2 separate regions of the Homo sapiens genome follow, and region 1 is linked to region 2. The links are contacts of gene promoters, found by promoter capture Hi-C in blood cells and fetal thymus (Javierre and others, 2016). All regions are on one chromosome and are shown on one strand. The core of a region is centred on a gene start or on the middle of the fragment in contact, and the rest is flanking DNA. Distances in the headings are between cores, read along the strand shown. Region 1 overlaps LOC124904506 (a long non-coding RNA gene). Region 2 holds the start of LPGAT1 (lysophosphatidylglycerol acyltransferase 1).

Evidence for each region. Contacts are between HindIII fragments. The CHiCAGO score rates a contact against its expected background, and 5 or more counts as called.
Region 1: a fragment that was not itself captured here is called in contact with the fragment with the promoter of LPGAT1 in region 2 in 1 of 17 cell types (fetal thymus); the score reaches 6.1 in fetal thymus.

The regions. Positions count from the first base shown.
Region 1 is chr1:212,457,269-212,462,875 of GRCh38, forward strand. It overlaps LOC124904506 (a long non-coding RNA gene), which reads right to left. Exons shown (of 2, transcript XR_007066870.1): 2 at 4,397-5,398. Among named protein-coding and RNA genes, the nearest start is that of LINC02771, 13 kb to the right of the region's middle. RefSeq lists enhancers at 3,759-3,928, 4,724-5,238. The HindIII fragment of the contact is 2,354 bases long and covers 1,964-4,317 here.
Region 2 is chr1:211,829,513-211,835,294 of GRCh38, forward strand. It overlaps LPGAT1 (lysophosphatidylglycerol acyltransferase 1), which reads right to left and starts at 1,251. Exons shown (of 8, transcript NM_014873.3): 1 at 1,061-1,251. It overlaps LPGAT1-AS1 (LPGAT1 antisense RNA 1), which reads left to right and starts at 1,449. Exons shown (of 6, transcript NR_135820.1): 1 at 1,449-1,528; 2 at 1,744-1,900. RefSeq lists a silencer at 676-1,435. The HindIII fragment of the contact is 5,763 bases long and covers 397-5,782 here.

The DNA of each region.
Region 1 (5,607 bases), core at 1,891-4,390, 630 kb after region 2:
CACACTGTGACACATGCTCTGAACGACACAGCAATGCACAGTGGTGGAAAACAATAGGAGAGCAGAGGGACCTAATAAGACAGAATGAGCTGGGATTAAGCAGAGACCAGAAGAATGTGTTTAGTGTGTGCCTCCTGTTGGTAAATGAGCTCTGTTGTGTTCACTACACACTGGGCAGTTTGGTGCAGAGCTTGCTTTTCCCTGGGCCTCTACTGGAGTCCCCTCCAGGAGACATGGGGTGGCTGCTGTTGACATTTTCTCCCTGAAAGCCCAGGTATCTCTCCAGAGATGGAGAACTCTGAGCTTCCTTTTTACAGAAAGGACTCAAACTGGTGGCTGTTTGGGGATGGGACGATGATGGGTGATGTTTGAGGCCGGAGTTTCAGAATCAGAAAAGTCTCTGTAGTCAAGGCCTTGAGGTTTGCTGACTTTGCGTGACACCCAAAGCGTAGGACCCACAATCAAATCTGTGGAGAGGGCGCTTGTGGTCCATGTGTAGGTGTATACCTGTGAGCATAGGCAAGTGTGCGTGCACACATGTGTGCATGAGAGCAGGCTCAGGCTTCAGCTCCTGGTCACTCTAGTCCTTCTTCTATTCTCTCTTCTTTGATGGTAGGGCTGGGACTTGGCAAACCACTTTTGGCTTTGGCAGCTGCTTCCTATCGGATTCAGCCAGTAGGGGGTGCTAGAAGGACACTGGAAAGCTGGAGGGAAGCCCTCTTTTTCTTGTTTACTTCTGTTCTTGTAAGCGGCTCCGGTAGTACTTCTTCACCCCGGCAGCAGCAGTTCCTTACCATAGCAGCAGCTAAATTCAGTTTACAATCTTTCTAACACTTGTAGAACTAACTTCACCCCTAATTCAGAGGCCAACACCAGCCGGCAGGCACCCCCCACCTCACCAGATGTCTGGTTCCAGCCCCACAAGGTGCTCCTGTCTCTAAGTTTTAATCATTCCAAATGCACCCCTTTGCTGCCTCGTCCTTGGGGTGGTAGTGCTTCCTCCATGATACCTTCTTAGCATCTCTGACATTAGTGTTAAGGGGTCCCAACCCCTAACATGAGTTTCCTGGACTGTGGGGGGCCTTTTGTGCCCTTCTGAGCCCTGGGGAGATCAAAAGCAGTTGTCTAACCCCTCGGTGGTTAGTAACTGCTCTACTCTGAGAAAGAAGGGCTGGCTTATCCTTGGAGAGGCCAGTAATTCTGTTCTCAGCTCTTCTCTCTGCGGGCCTCCACATCTCAGGAAGAAAGGACAGGTGCCATCTCAGTTCCAGTCATCTTAGCACACGCCTCCCTCTCTGCCTCCCTGCTGATCTGCACCTTAGCTGTGGCCTGGCCTGGTCTCAAAATGCTCCCAGGAGGAGAGGCCATGGCCTTCTCCATGCCCACCCTCCCTCACCAAGTGTGAGCAGAACTGATGGAGAAGCTGGGCCGAGGGAGGAGAGAAACTCGAGTGGGAGACCTTGGGGCCGTTGGGAGAGGGTACAGAGAAGGTTGCTGCCTCAGATGCCGTGGGTTTCTGTTTCCTTCCCCATTAGTGTCTTTCTCATGGAGAAAATCTGTTTTCCTTGAAGTAACTTGACTGAGTCTTTGACTGGTTCTCCTTTGCAAGGTGAACCCAAGAAAGAAAAGAAAAGACAAGGAACCCAACATCCACAGAGGACCTGCTATGTGGCAGGAAGTGCTGGGAGCCCTGAACACATGTATGGCCCTCCTCGAGGACTGACTGAGCAGCTCTGGCTGATGGGGGTGTGGCTGAGGGGGAGGAGGGGAGGGGCTAGGAAGACAGTCTCAGAAGAAAGAATAATGAACACTAGATGTGAAAACTTCCACAAAGCAGGTGGCCCACCAGGCAGGATCAGAGCAGTTCCCTGCCATTATAGAGTTTCCTTTTGCCTAGCTCTTCTGTGTTTGTATTGGGGTGGTGTGTGTGGGGGGAACACAGTTTTGTTTTGATCATTTATAAAGCTTTACTGAGGTATAATAGATACACAAAAAAATCACATACATATAAAGAGTACATCTTGATGAGTTTGGACATATGCATACACCTGTGATACCATCACCAAAATTTAGGTACTAAACATCTCTATCGCCTCCAAAAATTTCCTTGTGTTCTTTTGTGTTTTGGTTTGTTTTTTTGGTAGTAGGAACACTAAACATGAGATCTATCCTCTCAACATATTTTAAAGGGTGCAATTCTGTATCGTTATCTACAGGCACCATGTTGTACAGCACATCTCCAGAACTTACTCATCTCGCATAACTAAACTTTATACCCATTGAGCAACATTTCTCCATTTCCCCTTCCCCCAGCCCCTGGAAACTGCCCTTCTATTCTCTGCTTCTATGAGTCTGACTATTTTAGATACCCATTTAAGTGGAATCATGCAGTATTTGTCGTTCCGTGTCTGGCTTTTTTCACTTAGTATAAAACCCTCTTGGTTCCTCATGCTGTTGCAATTGGCAGGATTTCCTTCTTTTTTAAGGCTGAATAATATTCCATTGTATGTATTTGTCACATTTTCTTTATCTATTCATCTGTTGATGGACATTTGGGTTGTTTCCCTATCTTGGCTATTGTGAATAAGAAAAAAATACAGTTTCTCAACCCAAAGCAAACAAAGAAACATTGTGCAAAATATAAGTGTTGACAGAAAGGCAGGCCGGGAGGGTAAACAATGGCTGGCATACAGCACAGATCAGGCTTCTGAGAGAACCGTGATGCCCCGGGCACACCTCTTCTGCCAGGACTAGCTCACTGGGGGAATTTGTCAGTGCTGTGCAGACCCATAGGTCTCACCTGGTTCTGGTTTGTAGAGGGAGGCAGTGGGACCCAGGCCCACCAGTGGGAGTTCAGAGCCTGCTGTCAATTCTGCCTTTTCTGCCAGGGCTGTGTCTGAAAGGACTGATAAAAAATGCTCCTGTGTTTGGCTCTCTCTGCACCATTTTAAAACTCTTCGATAGTGATCAGCACAGCTATTAAAAGTATCAGGTGGAAATCAGCCACTCAGGGCTGACAGGTGGCTGATTCTGACCCCCACTCCCCAGCCATACATGTCTAGGGTAGAAACCGGTCACATAAACAGGAACTACAGTCTTTCTCAGGCTTTGCACTTGTCCCAGCCTCTGAGCAGGGCCTCTGGGCCTCCCTTTTGGGCTTGACCCAGCAAGCATCCTACCTGAGCTCACTCCTCACCTGCCCAACTCCAGCGATCTGGGGTGATATCTGCAGGAGCTGCCCTCAGTGCCTCCAAAGCTCGAGAAGGTGCTACATCACAGGTAGAGGGAGGGATGCTGCCTGTGAAGATTTCCTCCCCCACAGAGTGTCCCGGACTGCCGTGGTGCATGGCGCCCTCCTTGGAGGGGAGACACGTGCATCTGCCCTGGGCCACATGTCAGTTCTGACGCTGCATGGCCGTGTGCTCCCTGGGTCTCACCAAGATTCTTGGGCGAGCAGCCTTCCCTGTAGTCTCCTTAGGCTCAAGCCTTCAAGGACTAGGCTAGAGGCTGACCTGAGTGACCAGCACCAAGCGGTCCTCCAAGCTGTCCCTCCTCCTGGACCTCCCCAGCGGGGTGCTCATCACTCTCAGACCAAGACCTCTAGTCTTTCTCTTGGGATGAGTTATTTCTCATCCTTAGTCTCTCACACCAGTGTACTCCTGGGGTCCCAGCCCATAAGACATGTCTGAGTCTCCCCTATGCAAACACCCCACTGTGCACAGGTGTTGTTATCCTCATGTTGTGGGTGGGGAAACTGAGGCTCTGAATGTCAGATGACTTGCCTGAGGTCACTCAGAGTCTCCAGATCCCTAACACTGAGTCAGCCCTATGCTCACCACACAACGCTGTGTTACACACCACCTCACGGTTGTGGCTAAAAGTTATGCTTTGAGGTTGTCACCTGGCTCTGTCCAGGGACCCGCAGGCTGTTCTGAGGTTGGACTTTGGTGGTTCCCATGTAGGCCCAGCATCAGAATTGCCTGTGAAACTTTGAAAAACTCAGGTGCCAGGGCCTAAGCCCAGGGAATTCTGACTCACTAATCCAGGTGGGCTCAGGTGCACAGGTGTCTGTAGAGTCAATTCTCATTCTTCATGGTAGTTATGTTTTATAAAGTCTCTGTGAACACTGAATGAGCAGATACTGAACCTTTGCGCCTAGGGGAAACACAGGGTTAGATTTCTGCCTGCCTCTGGTTACAACCAGTACATAGCCTTGTTTTATGTGTATTTCTATTAAAGACACCTTCTTTACTCTCTACGGTTGACTCATTGACACTGAACTCATGGTCAACAGCACCATAACTTGTGTCTGAAAGAAGCTTGTCTGATACACGTGTTTTCTCTGTATGGGACATCACGGCCTTCTTGTGCTTAGGAACAAACACCAACACTCTGCTTGGGGGACATTAATTTTTTTTTTTATTTTCATAGGTTATTGGGGAACAGGTGGCATTTGGTTACATGAGTCAGTTCTTTAGTGGTGATTTGTGAGATTTTGGTGCACTCATCACCTGGGAAGCATACACTGAACCCAGTTTGTAGTCTTTTATCCCTCACCCCCTTCCCACTCTTTCTCCCTGAGTCCCCAAAGTCCATTGTGTCATTCTTATGCCTTTGCATCCTCATAGCTTAGCTCTCACTTATGAGTGAGAACAGACAATGTTTGGTTTTCCATTCCTGAGTTACTTCACTTAGAATAATAGTCTCCAGTCTCATCCAGGTTGCTTCGAATATGCTTAGGGGACATTTTAAACAGTGAAATCACCAACACAAAGCACAAAAGCATGAAAAATGTGGCACCAAATAGCCTGCGAAAAGGACACTTGTTTGCATTGTGGGAGCTGAAGCCAGCAGGCTGAGCGGGCCTTGTTCCACCCCCGCTGGGAATGTGCGTGTTGAGCAGCCCTCATTCTTCCCCACTCTGTGTGTGTCCGAGAATGACCCCAAAAGTGCAGCCAGTATTGATTTTGGGGTTACAGATACAATTTCGCAGGTAGGTGAATTTGTACATATGGAATCCATGAATGGTGAGCATGGGCTGCATTTTGCAAGCTCTGTTTGCCCAGTGGTGAGCTGGGTCTCACAGCAACTGGCAGCAAGAGTTGACCAGGCATGAGGATGGTGCAGGGGAGCCATGGAGTGGGGGCCTGAGTTGCTGTGGAGGGTCGAGAGGGCAGGTTGGCTGGTGCCCATCGAGGACTGGGGACCCAGCAGTGCAGCCGCTGCAGGCTCTGGGCTGTGACTTCTGGCTTGCATCAGCACCCAAATCACCACAGATCTTGGACTTCCACCCTCAGTGGGCTGATAATTCAAAATTCACAACTTGGTTTTCCCGTAGAAACCGTGTTATGAGCGGTGGGTTAGTCCTCAGCTTGGGTCACAGAGGCCCATGTCACACCTGGTTAGACAAAAGGGGTCAGTGAGGCATTGGGGGACCCACCACACCTGAAGCCACCCCAGCAAGCCTCCCCCAGGGCTCAGGGCTCAGGCTGTGAGAAGGAGGGGCTCCCTCTGCTCCTCCTGGGGTCCTGAGACTGAGGGGTTCCTCCAGGAATCTCTAGGGAAAGGTGAAGGCAGGAGTACCAGACAGGCAGTGGAAGATGAGGT
Region 2 (5,782 bases), core at 1-2,500:
AGGTCAAGGGAGCTGTTCACCGAGGCACGAAGTATGTCACAATATATTTAGCAAATGATAACACAATTCCCATTCAGTAATCGGTGGCCGTCCCCGCACCGTGTCTCACTGCGGTCGTCTATTGGACTTAGAAAAATAGATCCACTCGCTTCAGACAACCTCAGGATCTCCAAACTGAAGACACAAGTGACATGACCGAAACAGGGTCCCCTCAATAAGATTTCCCAGATACTGAGGACCTCAGTCTCCTCACCACCACGATTCCTGCACACCGATGCATTCCTTTAAAAGGTCTCTGGCTCTAGCGAAGAGTTACCCTCAAAATTCTCATTTGTAGCAATAGGGTTTTTGTTTCCCTTTTTTTTTTAAGAAAAAAAATGGGGGGCCTAGAAAAAAAGCTTACAAGGTGAGAGGAAGAAAGTAGGGGGTTATAATGCGAAAAAGAGGAAGGACAGGAGTAGGGGGAAGGGAGCAAAAGCCAGAAAGAGGTAAAAGCCAAGGAACTGGGGATGAAGAGAATGAGATTTCCGACCAGAGGGCAAGGAAGCAGGGGATGATGAAAGGGGCAGAGAAGAGGCGACCGCAGCGCGGGGAGCCGGTGGAGCCTGCAGCGGTTTCCGCGGATGTGGAAGGGTCGTGGCGGCGGGCGCGGCCCGCGCGCCGGGCTCACCTCGGCGGGCGCGGACGGCGGGCGGCTGCGGAGAGCGGGGGCGGGTGTCCCCCGCCGAGGGGTCGCGGTCATGGACGCGGTGGCGGCCCAAGCGGCCCGAGGCGCTGCGCGAGCGGGCGCGCTGGCGCCCTACTCCCCTCGCGGCTGCCTGCGGACAGAGGGACGGCGGGGACTCAGAGGCCGGACCTGTCACCCGGGCGGGTCCCGGGGAGGCGGGCGGATGCCCCGCGCCCCCGCCTCCTCCCCGGGGCCTACCGCGCCCTCGTCCCTCAGGCCGCTGCCGCCTCCCCGGGCCACGCGACGACGACACCCCCTTCCCCGCCCCCAGCGCCTCCCCTGGCCCGGCTCCGCTGCCGCTCTGGGGCCTGCGACCGCGGAGCCGGAGGTTACCTCGGGCTGGCCGGGCCCCAGCCGGGGCTTTGGGAGTCAGAGGAGCCGGAAGAATGCATGGCCGGCGGCGGGGCCGGCGGAAGAAGGCGGTGGCGGGGCCCTGCCCCGCTCCGGCTGTGGCGCGGCCCGCGCCCGTTCCCCGGCGGCGCCGAGACTCGGTCCCCAAGGGCCCGGCCGCGTTCGCCCGGACTGGCGGGGAGGGGCGGCGGGAGGAAGCGGCGGGAGTCGGGACTGCGGCGGAGCCGCTCCCACAGCGCCCTCTAATGAAAGCGCCGCCGCCGCTGCCTGGCCCGCTTGCCCCGCCTGGCCCGCTCCCCCTACCCCTGCGCCAGCGAGTCGGGGCCCTCGGGGCTACCTGGACGCTCGGCCAGGACCTCAGTGAGTCCAGAACATACTGAGGGAAAGGGCCGCTCGGAAAGATCTAGGAATGAACACCCATCCTCACACCCCAGGAGTGCCTTGGTTTCAGTTGAGAGCCCCCTTTCAGCCAACACGGCCGCCTTTCATTGTTAGGGCTCTCTTCTCTGCCCAAACTAGGAACCTGTCTCCTTGACGGCTAAATGTCCACTTTTCATTCTTAATGAAACCCGGTTGCACTCATGGCTTTTCTTCTTAACCTCTGCAGTGTATTATTGTCTAGAGTTTCAAATTCATTCTTTTTACGGTCAAAAGTCTTGTTTCAGGAAAGCAGCTGGAACATTAATGGCAATTCCACTTTCCCATTCATCGCCCCCGCCCCCACCACCCCACCAAGAAACTCAGTGGGAATGAATGGTCTACACAGAGAAACTGAAATCTGGTTAGTCAAGAAGGAAAAAACAACCAAGTGCCTGGCATTAAGTAAGTACTCACCCGCCCGCCCTCCCCCGCCCGCCATAAAAAGAAAAACCGAAAAGACAAAAAACAGTGGCCATGGGAACTCCTAGACAGACCCCGTCACTTGGGATACTATAGCTGCATTCTGGTTCAAAGGCTGGACCACCTGAAGGAAAATAGAGAAATAGTCCATTGACCTACCCCCTTGAGCATTCTTAAATGATCTGCCTAAATTTTAGTTTTTAAAAATCCTGTTTATAAAACCTTATGTCCCTTAAGCACATTTGTAAATGGAGGGGATGGGGCAGGGCAGATTTCACACTCCCTAGGGAACTGCCATATTTGAATCAGAATGCCACCTATTCTGCCTATTTTGAAAATGTTCATCACAGCGTTTGCTCTGGACTCTCAACTTTCTCTAATTTCAGTTCCTCTTAGGTCCACAGGTGAAGGAAAGATATGCCCCATTCTATTCCTTGCATTCTCTCTTTATTGACAAGGTAGTAAGATCTTTAAATAAATCTCATGAGAGAGATAATATATATACTTTATTATTCAAAATATGTCATTATATTCTTCAGTAAGATAGGTGAGGTACATATTTATTTCCACAATCAAGAATAAACTCTAAGGATTCCATCTGGTCCATGCAATTCAGCTTTCCCACATGCTGCGTAAACGTTGGCTGACACCTGGAGAGAGATAACCTACAATGGGATTTACACGTGATTCCTGGATCAGGGACCATCTGCCAGAGGACCAGACACAGCAGCACTTGATGAAATGCAATTAGTACCAGGCCCAGAATTCATTTTCAGGCTCAGAAAAGAGCCAGAGGTTGGGCAGGACCTCTGGCTCTTTAGTGTACAAAAACAACACTTGAAGTGTCTACCAAAGAGACAGATTCTTCAGCATCATACCAGAACATTTTAATAATCTAGGTCCAGTGGACCTGAGAACCTGCTTTTTAAAAAGCGTCATAGGTGATTCTGATGCAAGTAGTATGCAGACCTTGCTTTAAGAAACCCTGACTTAGAGGTATTCTGAGATGATCACATTCTCTTCTAGACCCTTCATAATTTTAAATCATTTGATCATATGTGTTCTCATGTGTGTTAGTCAGCTAGAGCTGCCATAACAAAATACTGCAAACTGGGTGGCTTAAACAACAGAAACTTATTTTCTCGAAGTTCTGAAGGCCAAGATCAGAGATCAAAGTGTGGGGAGGTCTGGTTTCTTCTGAGGCCTGTCCCCTCGGCTTGCTGATCACCATCTCTCATTGCAGAATTCTGCCATTTCAGTACCTCCTTATGGAAGGAGTAGGGAATACCTAATCTCCTTGATCTTTTCAGATATCCTCATATTAACTGCTTCCAACCTCATTGGACTTTTCTTGAAACTCAACCAACAGTACAACACATTATGTTCCAGGTATAGATATGCCCTGGTTTTGTGCCAAGAGTGTAGGAGAGGGGTTATCTTCTTAACTTTCTGACCACAATATCAGTTTCAAGATAATTCAGCTGCTATAATAGATAAGAAACTGTTAGGGCTGACTTCTTAAGGGAACAATTTCAGATGATGCTTGTGTTTATTTCTTGCATTTCGAAGTTCGTTTTAGTTAGTTTTACCTTCCTCTTGCCTATACTACAATTTTTTTGCCCTGCCTCCTTTCAACCACTTAGGAAGCCTCCTGAGATTGTTCCATAGCCTATTTTATTGCACCATGGACAGAGAGATGTATGAATGCTCTGAATGACTGTAACAGGAAGATTGGAACAGCCAGTTCTCCAGGGTAGACTGTTCTGTGGAAAACAAGGATCTTCTTCAATGACTAGTTAGCTTCTAGTCCCCTATCCTGCTACCTTAGAGCCATCTTTATCAAAACACAAACATGAAGCCAACAATTTCAACACCTTCATGTACACTCCAATAGAGAAAAGAGGGAAATGAACAGACCCCACCCTATAGCCACAGACATTATTGTTTCTGTTTCAAAAGCCCACATTTGAACCACAAGAGAATGGTCCTTTGAAAAAGAAAGAGGATTTCTTACATTTCTTGGAATCGCCAGTCATTTGAAAGCAATATAACCACAATACCTTAGAAGGTTGAATTCCACCCATCTAGTCCACATACACACAACAAATTAGGTTATAACCAGGGAGAGGTTCCCTTGGGCAGAAGAGTACCCCCTGGGCCCTCTCTTTTTCCTAGTGGCAATTATAAAAACATTTTACCTACCTGTGTTGGTTTCTGCACTAAAGCTCCAGTGAACTATTTCCTGTCTAGGGAGAAACCCTACCAGCAATAACCTTCAATGACTTGGCACAGGCCCCCTACATTGCTAGGAAACAGTTGCAGGCTTGAAATCAGCAGCCCAAAAGAGTCATGCATTCTGACTGTTGTCAGCTTTAACTTCAAACAAAAAATGGAAATATATATGGATGTTCTCTTCTATATTCATGTCAATAATTATTTTATATAAAATGCTCCAGGGCTTATAACCTTAAAATTTTTCAGATAGGGTGAGCCAAATCATCCACACTTGGCTGAGTGTGGTGGCTCACACCTGTAATCCCAACACGTTGGGAGGCTGAGTCAGGCAGATCACTTGAGGTCAGGAGTTTGAGACCAGCCTGGCCAACATGACGAAAACCTGCCTCTACTAAAAATACAAAAATTAGCCGAGCGTTATGGCACCCGCCTGTAATCCCAGCTACTCGGGAGGTTGAGGCACGAGAATTGCTTGAACCTGGGAGACAGAGGTTGCAGTAAGCCTAGATCATGCCACTGTACTTTAGCCTGGGCGACAGAGCAAGACTCTGTCTCAAAGAAAAAAAAAATCCTCCAGACTTGACTGCAACTCTCAGCCATTTCAGCAATTCTTTTTATTAACATGATTGACCCTAAACAATACTATAAAGTAAACAATTGTGTCTCCTCCATGCTCCTCTCCTGTTCGGCTAGCTTCTCTTTTCCCTTCTTAAGGCTAAAATTATCCCTAGTTTCCAAAGGGCCCTGAAGACTCCACATGAGGCCTCCCCCTGCTCCCCAAACAGATAATACTCTAAGCTAGAACCTTCTTTCTCACCTGTCCAATGTTATGTTTCCTTGGCTCAATCCTTATCTCCCCTTCCTGGTGTGGTCAGCTAATCCATGACAAGGGGCTTATGGCTAAAAAATGGAAGAGAGAACTCTCTTCCTAAAGCATTAGTATTTTATACAGAAACTAAAACCCCCAAAGCCTTAATGTATTTCTGCTGGCAGATTATCAGGTATTGTAATGGATGAGTATATTTGTAAGATGTTTTGGAGAAGGATATTTTGGCAAGTTCTTCTACTCACAGAACCTATAAAATCACATAGTACACCTATGAATAAGACATAGTTCACTCACTCATAGGTGGGAATTGAACAATGAGAACACATGGACACAAGAAGGGGAACATCACACACTGGGGACTGTTGTGGGGTGGGGGGAGCGGGGAGGGATAGCATTAGGAGATATACCTAATGCTAAATGATGAGTTAATGGGTGCAGCACAGCAACATGGCATATGTATACATATGTAACAAACCTGCACGTTGTGCACATGTACCCTAAAACTTAAAGTATTAAAAAAAAAAAAAGAATCCTAACATTTAGAATAGAATTTTAAAATGCCAAAAAAAAGCAAATTCAAAAAAAAAGACATAGTTCAGATTTAAACTTGCATTTTCATAACATAAGATTCAAAATATTACGTTAAAATAATAATAATCACTGGCACTTATTGATCACTTTCAACAATCCAGGCCATGTTCTTGGTGCTTTACATACATTAATTCATTTAATCTTCACGATGACTTTTTTTTTTTTTTTGAGACAGGATCTCGCTCTGTCTCCCATACTGGAGTGCCGTG